3 separate regions of the Homo sapiens genome follow, and regions 2 and 3 are each linked to region 1. The links are contacts of gene promoters, found by promoter capture Hi-C in human tissues and cell types (Jung and others, 2019). All regions are on one chromosome and are shown on one strand. The core of a region is centred on a gene start or on the middle of the fragment in contact, and the rest is flanking DNA. Distances in the headings are between cores, read along the strand shown. Region 1 holds the start of PIF1 (PIF1 5'-to-3' DNA helicase). Region 2 overlaps SNX1 (sorting nexin 1). Region 3 overlaps SNX22 (sorting nexin 22).

The links. Contacts are between HindIII fragments. The study calls those that stand out against the background at their distance.
Region 2: a fragment that was not itself captured here is called in contact with the fragment with the promoter of PIF1 in region 1 in 1 of the 25 tissues and cell types used here (hippocampus).
Region 3: a fragment that was not itself captured here is called in contact with the fragment with the promoter of PIF1 in region 1 in 1 of the 25 tissues and cell types used here (neural progenitor cells).

Annotation. Positions count from the first base shown.
Region 1 is chr15:64,824,397-64,828,643 of GRCh38, forward strand. It overlaps PIF1 (PIF1 5'-to-3' DNA helicase), which reads right to left and starts at 1,251. Exons shown (of 13, transcript NM_001286496.2): 1 at 1,173-1,251. RefSeq lists enhancers at 1-194, 1,384-1,513. The HindIII fragment of the contact is 20,575 bases long and covers 1-4,247 here.
Region 2 is chr15:64,102,772-64,107,018 of GRCh38, forward strand. All of the region lies in intron 1 of SNX1 (sorting nexin 1), which reads left to right. Among named protein-coding and RNA genes, the nearest start is that of SNX1, 8.9 kb to the left of the region's middle. RefSeq lists a silencer at 2,419-2,713. The HindIII fragment of the contact is 7,036 bases long and covers 1-4,247 here.
Region 3 is chr15:64,156,849-64,161,095 of GRCh38, forward strand. SNX22 (sorting nexin 22) reads left to right here. Exons shown (of 7, transcript NM_024798.3): 7 at 1-633. PPIB (peptidylprolyl isomerase B) reads right to left here. Exons shown (of 5, transcript NM_000942.5): 3 at 3,256-3,349; 4 at 1-61. Among named protein-coding and RNA genes, the nearest start is that of PPIB, 4.0 kb to the right of the region's middle. The HindIII fragment of the contact is 7,647 bases long and covers 1-4,247 here.

The sequences.
Region 1 (4,247 bases), core at 1-2,500:
ACGTAATGGGTGCTATAGGGGACGTAATGGGTGCTATAAAGGACGTGACAGGGAGCAGGGTCAAGGCTACACAAGATCACGAGGACTGTCACTGGTAACACAAAGAGGTCACAAAGACGGAGAAAGGGCTTTGGGCTAACCGAAAATCCACCCTTAGAATATGCCCTGGGCCGGGCGCAGTGGCTCGCGCTTTAATCCCAGCACTTTGGGAGGCTAAAGTGGGCGGATCACCTGAAGTTAGGAGTTCTGAGACCAGCCTGGCCAACATGGTGAAACCTCGTCTCTACTAAAAATACAAAAATTAGCCGGGCGTGGTGGCGGGCGCTTGTAATTCCAGCACTTTGGGAGGCTGAAGAAGGAAGATCGCTTGAGCCCAGGAACTCGAGACCATCCTGGGCAACATAGCGACACCCTCTAATTAAAAAAAAAATACATACATATAAATACATACATATGCATACATTATATATATGTGTGTGTGTGTGTGTATATATATGTATATATATATATACACACACGCACCCTGCTACACAATTTCCATTTCTATATATCCAATTTCTATATATATATACACACAATATATATACAATTTCTATATATATACACACACACACACACACACATATACACACACACCGTGCTACACAACAATTTCCAGAGCGGCGGATGGGCACCGAGGATTAGGGAGCCTCAGGTGTCCTGCAAGGACCTCACTAGAACAGGGGTCCCTGCGCAGAAAGAATCCTCCTTCCCCGAGACCCAGGGCGAGCACATGAATCCTCAGAGTACTCTCCCCAGGAAGCAGGAGAATCGCCCGTGGGGAGATGCAAAGAGGGCTGCCGTGTAATAAGCGACTTCTGCCTTGTAGGTACATTCACTGGCTTATATGCAGCGGGCAGGTCTCACTCTTCCCCGTGTACAGACGTGGAAACAGGCTAAGAGAGGGAAACTCACTTGCCCTTCATAAGCCACAGCGGCTAGTAGTCAAAGTCAGTGTGATTCCCATGCCCTCGCGCTTCCCACCACCAAGGTGGGGACGAGGTGGAAAATATTCGGCTAGGGAAATCGCGGGGGACCCTGGGACCCTAGAAGCCGTGCTCCCTCAGGCTGACCCATTTGTTTGCACCCTCCCGCCGGAAACCCCTAGATAAATCAGGCTCTTTGCTCCCCACCTCTGGGTTCGGGCAGACACTCACTTGTGCCGACACTCAGATGAACAAGCAGATCGTAGCCGGCCTGTGGCTAAGCTCCGAAACTAGAAATTTTTCAAATGCTAGAGGCAGAAAATCACCCAATCACCGACTGGATCTTTAAATTCTCCAGCCACTCAGAGGTAGGGGCGTAACAATGGGCGTGTCTTTCTTTGCGTCTCTACTCCAGGAGCTTGGGCTGTACCAATTGCCTGCTAGAGGAAGGAGGTTTATGGTGGTGGCTGAGCATACCAAATCCAGTGGACGGCTGGGCGTGGTGGGAGGAGGCCGCCGCTGCGGCAGCCACCCGGCGGCGCGTGGTGTCGGGTCTGAAAACCCTACGCGACTCCGAAGATTTATTTTCAGAACCATCCTTCCAGCACACTCCCTCTCCCCTCTAGCCCGCACACAGAGGCTGGGCTTAGCCTTGGGGAAGATCTGCCTTTGGACTCTCACACCCCTGTTTACACTCACAGTACCATTGTCCAGTTCTGGGCAGACCACCCCAAGGCCTGCCCAATCCCTCCCCCGCCCCCAACTCTACATCCTTCTCTGCCTTTGTAAGGGACTTTACGCTTTGGCTCTCTCACCCACCTGAGGCCCATGAGTGAGAAACTCTGAGACCTGTGCCACGTGCCAGAGGGTACAGCGGAAGCGAGTAGAGTCTCTGTCTTCAGGGAAATTGTATCCCTCTTCTTGCACAGGATGCTGAAAGAATTTACTTTTAATCATCTTTATTATCTCATTGAAGCTTGGAATTACATAGCTGGAAAGGATCTTACAGGTGAGTCTGGCTACCTCATTTTACAGATAATGATAACTACCATGGATTAAATTGCCCTTTCCTTTCCTTTTTCCTTCTTAGGGCTCACTCTGTCGCCCAGGCTGTAGTGGAGTGCAGTGGCACAATCTCTGCTCACTGCAACCTCTGCCGTGGCGCGATCGTGGCTCACTGCAACCTCCGCCTCCTGGGCTCTGGTGATCCTCCCGCCTCAGCCCCCCAGGTAGCTGGAACTACAGATGCACACCCAGCTAATTTATATATATATATATATATATATATATATATATATATATATACACACACACACACATATATACACACACATATATATACACACACATATATATATACACACACATATATATATATACACACACATATATATATATAATTTTTTTTTCGTATAGACGGGATGTCACCATGTTTCCCAGGCTTGTCTCGAACTCCGGAGGTCAAACGATCCACCCACCGTGGCCTCCCGAAGTCCTAGGATTACAGGCATGAGCCCGGACCTTATTTTTCAAATGAGAAAAAAGCAAGGCTTCCAGAGATTTTACTGAAGGTCACATAGCTGATATGGAGAGCAAAACCAAACATTGAACCCAGATTACCTGCTCGCTTAATCACTCCATGGGGCTTAGCTACTACACCACACTGCTCCCAGTCTGTTAGCGGTAGAGGGTGATGACTGAAAGTTGTCCAGGTTCTTGGCGTTTTGAACAAAGAATTGGACAAAATGCCCATCAAAGCAAAGAAAGAATGAAGCAACAAAAGAACAAAAGCAGGAATTTTTTGAAAACGAAAGTACGGCTAGGCGCGGTGGCTCACGCCTGTAATCCCAGCACTTTGGGAGGCCGAGGTGGGGGGATCACTTGAGGTCAGCAGTTCCAGACCACCCTGACCAACATGGTGAAACCCTGTCTCTACTAAAAATACAAAAATTGCCGGGTGTCGTCGTGGACATCTGTAATCCCAGCTGCTTGGGAGGCTGAGGCATGAGAATCACTTGAATCCAGGAGGCAGAAGATACAGTGAGCCTGGATCGTGCCGCTGCACTCCAGCCTGAGCGACAGAACGAGAACTTGTCTCAAAACAAACAACAACAACAAAAAACAAAAACGAAAGTACACTCCACAGTGTGGGAGGGGACCCGAGATACAGAATTTTCTTGGGTTCAAATACCCCCTAGAAGTTTCCCATTGGGAACTTTACGCTTACTTCATGTAACTGAAGTGGTAGCGATAATCAGTCTGATTGGTTGCAGACAGCAACCATTCAGCCACCATTCAGAGGCTGGAGTGAAGTTACAAAGTTGCAAACGAAGACTGGACCCACACTCCTATGATTTGTTGCAGACAGCCAATCTCCCATCTGCCAATCTCCCATCTGCCATGCGGGAAACGTCAAAGGGAGTAGCCTTTGGTCCTTTTGTTCTTGTCCTTACTTAGGAGTGGAAAGTTAGAGTTTTCCTTTTTTTTTTTTTTTTTTTTTTTTTTTTTTGGGAGACAGCGTCTGGCTCTGTGCTCTGTTGCCCAGGCCGGAGTGCAGTGGCAGGATCTCGGCTCACTGCAACTTCTGCCTCCTGGGTTCAAGCGATTCTTCTGCCTCAGCTTCCCAAGTAGCTGGGACTACAGGTGCGTGCCACCATGCCCATTTAATTTTTGTATATTTGGTAGAGATGGGGTTTCACCATATTGGCCAGGCTGGTCTCGAACTCCTGACTTCGTGATCCGCCTACCTCGGCCTCCCAAAGTGCTGAGATTACAGGCGTGAGCCACCATGCCCGGCCAGGGTTTTCTTTTTTCTTCTTCTTCTTCTTCTTATTTTTTTGAGGTGGAGTCTCTATTTGTTGCCAGGCTGGAGTGCAGAGGCGCTATCTTGGCTCACTGCAACCTCTGCCTCCCCCATTCAAGCGATTCTCCTGCCTTAGCCTCCCAAGTAGCTAGGACTACAGGTGCATGCCACCATGCCCAGCTAATTTTTGTATATTTAGTAGAGACGGGGTTTCACCATGTTGGCCTGGATGGTCTCAATCTCTTGACATTGTGATCTGCCCGCCTCGGCCTCCCAAAGTGATGGGATTACAGGTGTGAGCCACTGTGCCCAGCCGGGTTTTCCTTTTAATTTAATTCTAGGAAGTCGGCGTGAAACAGCCTTAGGTTCCCTGCCTCCAGACCCTGTTCTTCTGCCTCAAGGTGACTGGCCTAGCTTCATGAAAGGTATAACCTGGACTGGAATCTCAGCTAGTAACAGCCACTGCAATGCCTTTCCAG
Region 2 (4,247 bases), core at 833-3,332, 720 kb before region 1:
TTTTTTTTTTTTTTTGACACAGGGTCTTGCTCTGTCTCCCAGGCTGGAGTGCAGTGGTGCAATCATGGCCCACTTCCCTTGACCTCCTGTGCTCTGGTGATCCTCCCATCATAGCCTCCCAAGTAGCTGGGGCTACAGGTGCATGCCACCATGCCCAGCTAATTTTTGTATTTTTAGTAGAGACGGGGTTTTGCCACGTTGCCTAGGCTGGTCTCAAACTCCTGGGCTCAAGTGATGTGCCCTCCTTGGCCTCCCGAAGTGTTGGGATTACAGGTGTGAGCCACCATGCCTGGCCTATACCACATATTCTTTATCCATTCATCCATTCATGGACACTTAGGTTGATTCCATATCTTGACTGTTGTGAATAGTGTGCTGGAATAAACATGGGCATGCAGAAGAAATATATATGCTTTGATATATTTGCTTTCTTTTGGATACATACCTAGTAGTGGGGTTGCTGGATGCTATGGTAGTTACATTTTTAGTTCTTTTAGTAATCTCCATACTGTTTTCCATAATGGCTGTGCTACTTCACATTCCCACCCACAGTGTATGAGTGTTCCCCTTTCTCCATATCCTTGCCAGCATTTGTTGTTTTTTGTATTTTTAATAATGTCTTTTTTTATACATTGCTGGGTTTGGATTGCTATTATATATTCTTTTACATCTACGTTCATAAGATAAACCTGTAGTTTCTTTCTCATGAAAATTGTATGGTTTGGGGAATTAAGATTATATGGTAATTTCTTCTATTCTTTCGAGAATGTTTATACTATTGGAATGATCTGTTTCTTAAAAATTGGTGGTACCTATAAAACTGTTCAGGCTTGGTATTTTTGTTTATGCTTTATGGAAAGATTGTTAACTATAAACAGTTTATTTCTCTGAGTGGTTATAGAGTTTGGTAGTTTTATTAAAAAGCCATAAGAAAAATGATGGTTAATCTGGCTAATACTTTAATTCTCTGTTCTGTGAAACATGCATGGTGGTTGTTCCCAAAGATATAACACATCCTCATTAAGTTTCTTGATATTAGCCCTTCTCTGATCTTAATCAGACTTCTGAAAGTGAATCTTTATAACAGTATCTTTAAACAAAGGTGTATCACTTAGTTTGTTTAGTTACTAGTTTAGTCATTTATAGCTAATATTGGTAAAAATTCTAGTGTGTAGTGTTTTCTACAGGGATATTGCCTCAAACACTTGTTTTTGGAGTTAACATACATCAAGTGGTCACATCTGGTCAAATGATCAGAAGTTGAAATTCTACCTTGTGGTAAATATATTCTTGAAAAAAGTGATAGGTATATGCAAAGACTCATTTTAGTGCTCAGCTCAAATAGTAAAGTTTTACTTCGCATAAGTTTAGATTTCCCTGAAATACATAAACTCATTAATTTCTTGATCATTGTATTGTACTAGCAATTAACTTAGCTTTCAGAATTATGGAGGAAAAGCTAATAAAAGTAATTATAGAACACCAGTTTTGGAGTAAAGGGTTTTTTTTTTTTTTTTTTGGGACGGAGTCTCGCTGTGTCGCCCCAGCTGGAGTGCAGTGGCGCGATTTTGGCTCACTGCAAGCTCTGCCTCCCGGGTTCATGCCATTCTCCTGCCTCAGCCTCCCGAGTAGCTGGGACTACAGGCGCCCGCCACCACGCCCGGCTAATTTTTTTGTATTTCTAGTAGAGACAGGGTTTCACCGTGTTAGCCAGGATGGTCTCAATCTCCTGACCTTGTGATCCACCCTCCCCAGCCTCCCAAAGTGCTGGGATTACAGGCGTGAGCCACTGCGCCCGGCCCAGGGAGAAGACTTTTAAAGATGGCTAATAGGCCGGGCACTGTGGCTCATGTCTGTGATCCCAGCACTTTGGGAGGCCAAGGCAGGTAGATCACCTGAGGTTGGGAGTTCAAGACCAGCCTGGCCAACATAGTGAAACCCCATCTCTACTAAAAATACAAAATTTAGCTGGGTGTGACAACGCATGTCTGTAATCCCAGCTACTTGGGACGCTGAGACAGGAGAATCACTTGAACCCGGGAGGCAGAGGTTGCAGTGAGCTGAGATTGCGCCACTGCACTCCAGCCTGGGCGACAGAGCAAGACTTGATCTTAAAAAAAAAAAAAAAAAAAGATGGCTAATAATAACCTGACTTAAAATTTATTTAAAAGTAGGGTTTGGGGCCGGGCACGGTGGCTCACGCCTGTAATCCCAGCACTTTGGGAGGCTGAGGTGGGTGGATCACCTGAGGTCAGGAGTTCGAGACCAGCCTGGCTAACATGGCGAACCCCTGTCTCTACTAAAAATACAAAAATTAGCCAGGCGTGGTGGTGCGTGCCTGTAATCCCAGCTACTCAGGAGGCTGAGGCATGAGAATCGCTTGAACCCGCGAAGTGGAGGTTGCACCACTGCACTCCAGCCTGGGGGATACAGCGAGACTCTGTCTCAAAAAAAAAAAAAAATTAGGGGCTTATGAGAGAAACAATAAAGGTTGCCGTCAGACTTCTGGTTTCTGTAAGGGTTGCCAACCCATTGTTTACTTAGGTGGTAAGGCCACTCTGACAACTTGGCCATTTGTAGTTCATTAGTTTGGACTGGAGAAAAGAAAAAAAAATCTGATATCTCTTCCTTGGTCCTCAAGCTTCTCAGCACTCAAGTAACTTTTGACATAAATAAATCATGAGTAGTTGATAGTTACTAGAGCAAGTAGCCGTAAGTATCTCATCTCCAGGAAAAGCTGTTGCTCAACTTTTTCTGGCTTATTCTTTTGCTTCGTCACGTGGACAGCTGGAGCTTCATTCTGCTTTCAGAGCAGATTTGAACTGGGTTTGCTTTTTCAATTTAGAAGGTAATCCACCCATTAATACTGTGATTCTTCTGCGGTTTTCTGGGCCCTTTCTAAGTTTTGTTAGGTTGAGACCCAAAAAGTTTAGTTGGGAAATTAAACCAGAGAATTCAGTAGAATGTCTGAGGCTAAATCTGGGGTCTCATGAGGTCTCTAATGGCCTTGCACATGATTTTCCTTAACTAGCTCAGTGGTCAGCTTCATGCTATTTTCCCCATCCTTCCAGCTCTCCCTTTTCCATTTTCATTAGTCCCTCTACTCTGTATCTCAGAAGTTCTTTACCTTTTTTGTGCTGTGGGCCAATTGGCAGGCCCTGTAAAGCCTGTGGACACATCCCCAGAATAATGTTTTTAAATGTATGAAATAAAATACATTAAAATATGAAGGAAACCAATTATATTGAAATTCAGTTTTAATAAATTAAAATGATTTTACATTAATAACATACTTAAATAGAGATGAGCATAAATGAGACTTTGAGATCTATAAAAACCATAATCTCATATAAAAATATCTAATATCAGTTACAATCTCAGGTACTTCTATTATGGTTTGTTGCTTATCTTTATGATTAATGTATATGCCAAATTTCAGTTCAAGGTTAATGAAAATGAAATTATAATAATTTTATTCCCATCCAAGTTCATAGATTACCCCCTGAAGTATGTGGCTAATGGACCCCAAGATAAGAACCCCTAGTTTAACTCCTTAAGCTATGGAGTTAAACTCTAGTTTGTAGAGTTAGGTACACCCTATTCTGAAATCCAGTGGACATTGAATGTCCATTCTCCCAAGCACAAATACTTTTAGTGCATCTGTGCCAGTTTTGAAACGTGGTGGGAGAGGAGTCACTGTCTGCTGTAGGCTGAATAATGCCCCCCTTCCTTTTCCCAAAGAAGTCCACATCTTAATCCTGCAACCAGTGAGTATGTTAGGTTATGTGGCAAGGGGGAGTTAAGGTTGAAGATGGAATTAAGATTGCTAATCAGCTGACCTTAAGATATGGAAGTTATCCTGGATTATCTGGCTGGGACAGTGTAATCACAAGGATCCTTAAAAATGTAAGACAGGCTATGAAAGACGATATGGAAGAGACGCAAAGAGATGAAATGTTACTGGCTTTGAAGATGGAAGAAGTGGGCCGTGAGGCAAAGAACCCTAGAAGCCAGAAAGGGCAAGGAAACAGATTCTTTCCTAGAACCTCCAGAAAGGAACACAGCCCTACTGACACCTTGATTTTAGCCCAGCAAAACCCATTGGACTTTTTCAGAACTGTAAGATAATTTGCATTGTTTAAACTGTTAAATTTGTGATGATTTGTTGCAGCAGCAATAAAAACTAATAGGCTGTCCCACCTCACTCATTTCTCCCTAGAAGTAAAGGTGGCAAAACCAACAGTATT
Region 3 (4,247 bases), core at 1-2,500, 670 kb before region 1:
GGCCCGTAGTGCTTCAGTTTGAAGTTCTCATCGGGGAAGCGCTCACCGTAGATGCTCTTTCCTGGGAAAAAAGACAGAGCAGGTCAGGGGCGCTGGATTGCGCCAAACCAAGCAGACATTCGGGGCCAGGACTGAGGGGGCTTAACCTGTCCTCTGTGCCAGGCTAGGCTGGAGTGGACTACAAGGACATAAAAGCAGCGTCCTTCCTATCTTCTGGCCTCAGAGCCAAGCCATGCTGACTGAGGCCAAGTGGGGCATCAGGCCAGGCTGATGTGGTGAACAGCTCACAGAAGGATTACTTTGAGAAGATAGTTTTGTGGCTTTTAAATAAGGCGCATGTTATCAGCTCCCCTTAGCTATGGCCCAGGCCTGCCACGGAGGGACTTTGGTGGAGGGAAGTGCCGTGCAGGATGCAGGGGAGTCAACAGGGTCGGAACTCTCCAGAAAAGGAGGACTGCTGTGGCTGACCAGCCTGTTTTCCTATGAGCACAAAAGACACAGGCATAGCTGCAGAGGAGAAAGCAGCCAGAGATGTGTGGGGAGGGGCAGAAAAGAGGGGCTGCCCCTTGGATTCTGGAGAGTCAAAGCCTCTTAACAAGGAATGAACAGGAATAAAAGACAGCTGTGAGTGTGTGTGACGCGTCTGTCCACGTGGGGCTTGGGGATATGGTAAGGGCAATCCGGAGTGATCTCTATGCCATTTCAGAGATCCTAGTTCCAAAGCTGCTTCCACGAGGAACACCGAAACCCTTCTTTTTCCCTATCACCCCTTGGAGACTGACACTGTGCATGAGGCCCCAAGAAACTCAGCCAAAAATGGGGTCATTTTCATTTTGTTTTATCTAACACCTTTCAAACATATTTGCATGCAAAACTCTTTTTTCCTTCTCACTGCACCTACCTTCATCCTGTGGTTCCACAGAATGGAACTGAGCTGGGAAACTGTCCTAGACAGATGCCAACCAGGAAGATGTTTCTGATTGGGCAGCAGGTAGGATGACTGAAAACCAAGAATGACCAGACTCTGGCTGGTGGGGACAGGGTGCTTCTGCCTGTGCTCCACCTCTCACCCCCACGCTGGGGAGACTGGACTCTGCCACATGTGCAGTGAGACCTGGCTGGAGTGCTGGCTAAAAGCCTCCCCCATTTGAGCCAACTGTGGGATTTTGATTATAGTTGTTATCCAGAAAACCCCCAAATCTCCATCCTTAGCTCCAGCCACTCTCTCAAGATACAGGGGTTCCAAACTCAAATGGACATTTCTATTTAAACTCAACATACCTTGTCATCTTTCTCTCCAGACCTCAGTTATTCTTTTGACCCCTTTTCCTCTGCACGTGGCTCAGGTTGTCCCTACCCACTCCCCATGTACTTACTCTTTCTTTCCATTCCCACCACCACCGCTGCAGTAGGCGAGTGCTTAGGGTGCTCATAGTGTGAGCCAGAGACTGTTCCAAGCATCTTACATATTTAACAATCCACTCTATGAGGAGGAGCTAACTCCACTTCAAAGATGAAGAAACTGAGGCACAGAGAATAAAAGGAGCCCCAGCAGAGCAACAGCGGGGCTAGAGTTCAGACCAAGGTGGTCTGCTCTCGAATCTCTGCTCTCAGCCACCTCAGGATCAGGTCCAAATCTCCCTGCCCAGGGTCAGTGGCACCAATGCCCCCAGCAGCCTGCCTGCCCTAGCCTCCACATCCTGGATCTGCCACCACATGACTCCCCTGGCACCCCAAGTGAGGGGTCATCCTCTTACTCAGCTCTGTGGCCCTGACTCCCTGCAGGCCGAAGCCCAGGCTGCAGGACATCACCCACCTCTCTGCACTCCGGGTACAGATGTCCTCACCCCACCTTTGGCCAAGCTCCTGCCACAGAACAGCACCGGGCTCATGCCCTAACCCTGCCTCTTTTCTGCCCGTTCAAATTCTCCTCATTGAGGACCCCACTGAAATCTTTCCTCACATCCGCAAGGTCATTCCCCCGTTCCCTGGCCTGAGGGGATCCCTCTGCTTGTCAGCACTTCAACAATGGCTGACTTACTAAGCACTCACTGCATGCCAGGCACTTCACACTCCAGATCTAGCCCAATCCTCATGGCCCCACAACTCTCTCCACCCTCACTGTACAGAACAGGAAACTGAAGCTCCAAGGACTCACTTGCCTGAGGTCACAAAACAAGAAGGTGGCAGACACTGGATCGAGCCCAACTGCGTCTGACTCCACAAATACAGTTCTTTGGTCTCCTTTGTGAGCCTGAGTCCTAAACGCTGCATCATGGCTCACTTGTACATTTTCAGTTGTTGGAAGTAAAAGGGAGCCACTGCCCCATGGGTCTTCACATCCTCAACCCCCACCACAGAGCCCCATAGACACTCATCGAGGAGTGAGCTGTGTTCTAAGGGAGCAGCAGGCTGTACCTGAGCTCAGTGAGACTCATGCAGGCGTCCGGGGGTCTTTCTGTCCTATGTGTGCAAGTTAATGCCAAGGTGAGGGTCGGCCCTCACAGAGTGGTCTCTGGTGAAAGACTGTCAAGGAAAGTAACTGCTCCCACTCTTTTTTTTATTTTTTTGAGATGGAGTCTCGCTCTGTCGCCCAGGCTGGAGTGCAGTGGCGTGATTTCGGCTCACTGCAACCTCCGCCTCCCAGGTTCAAGCAATTCTCCTGCCTCAGCCTCCCAAGTAACTGGGATTATAGGCGCGTGCCACCACGCCCGGCTAATCTTTTGTATTTTTAGTAGAGATGGGGTTTCAACATGTTGGCCAGGCTGGTCTTGAACTCCTGGCCTCAAGTGATCCAGCCACCTTGGCCTTCCAAAGTGCTGGGATCACAGAGTCACCACGCCTGGCCCTCTCACTCTTGCTGGGGCTTCCAGGGTAGCCTGGACAGGCTTTGGGCATCTGACCTAGAATCGCGTACCCACATGTCTTCACTTTGCTTCCACACGCCTCTCTCCCCAATCCCCATTCTGAAGAGGTATCAGGAAAGGTCACCAGGCTATAGGCCTGGATCAGCAGGACGGTCACCTGGGAGAGATTCTCTTAGATCTACCATCAGGTCCACCCCATTATTCTCTCTCCTTTGTACTGGGTTCCCTCTTCAAAGAAGGGTGCCGCTGGTCTCAAAGTAGGTAAGTAATAAGTAGGCCTGCCTCTAGAGCTGGGGAAGAAAGAGGCCTGGTCTCCCCAGCAGAACCTGGCCCTCCCACTGTGGAGGCTACACTGACATACTCCTTGGCCCAGAGGACCTGTGGTTACCTCCTGTGCCATCTCCCCTGGTGAAGTCTCCGCCCTGGATCATGAAGTCCTTGATTACACGATGGAATTTGCTGTTTTTGTAGCCAAATCCTTTCTAGAAAAAGGGAAGAGAAGGTAAGGAGGTGGTATGGGGCAGCAGGAAGACATTACATTAAATAGGCCTCACAGGAACAAGTCCACAACTCCTGCTCGCAGAAGAGACACCACTGCTGACCACTTTCACTGTTCAGTGTGCTACTAAGTGAGCGGGCAGGCGCCACAGGACAGGCATGGTACACACAGATGTGGAAATCCCTCTGCCTCCATACAATTCCCAAGCTTTATACAATTCTACATCACATAATGCTTTTCCCCTCATTTCTTCCAATCATAAGAACAGATACAAGAAAACTGAGAAGAAAGGTCACCTGCTGGCTCAATGGAAAGTTAATATAAACTGAAATAGGGCACTGTTGTTTCCTTAAAACCCACTGCCCTCACCCTAGGTGAAGTCTCCCCAGGAAGCTCTGGACCCCTTACTCTTTTTTATCTCATTTTTTAAATTTTATTATTATTTTTTTGAGACAGAGTTTCTCTCTTGTCACCCAGGCTGGAGTGCAATGGCACAATCTCCGCTCACTGCAGCCTCCACCTCCCAGGTTCAAGCGATTCTCCAGCCTCAGCCTCCTGAGTAGCTGGGATTACAGGCATGTGCCACCACAATGCCCAGCTGATTTCTGTATTTTTAGTAGAGATGGGGTTTCACCATGGTGCCCAGGCTGCTCTCAAACTCCTAAACTCACATGATCTGCCCTCCTCCGCCTCCCAAAGTGCTGGGATTACAGGTGTGAGCCACCATGCCCAGCCTGTTTTTTTATTTTTTATTTTTATTTTTGAGATGGAGTTTCCCTCTTGTTGCCCAGGCTAGAGTGCAGTGGGGCAATCTCGGCTCACTGCAACCTCCACCTCCTGGGTTCAACAAATTCTCCTGCCTCAGCCTCCCAAGTAGCTGG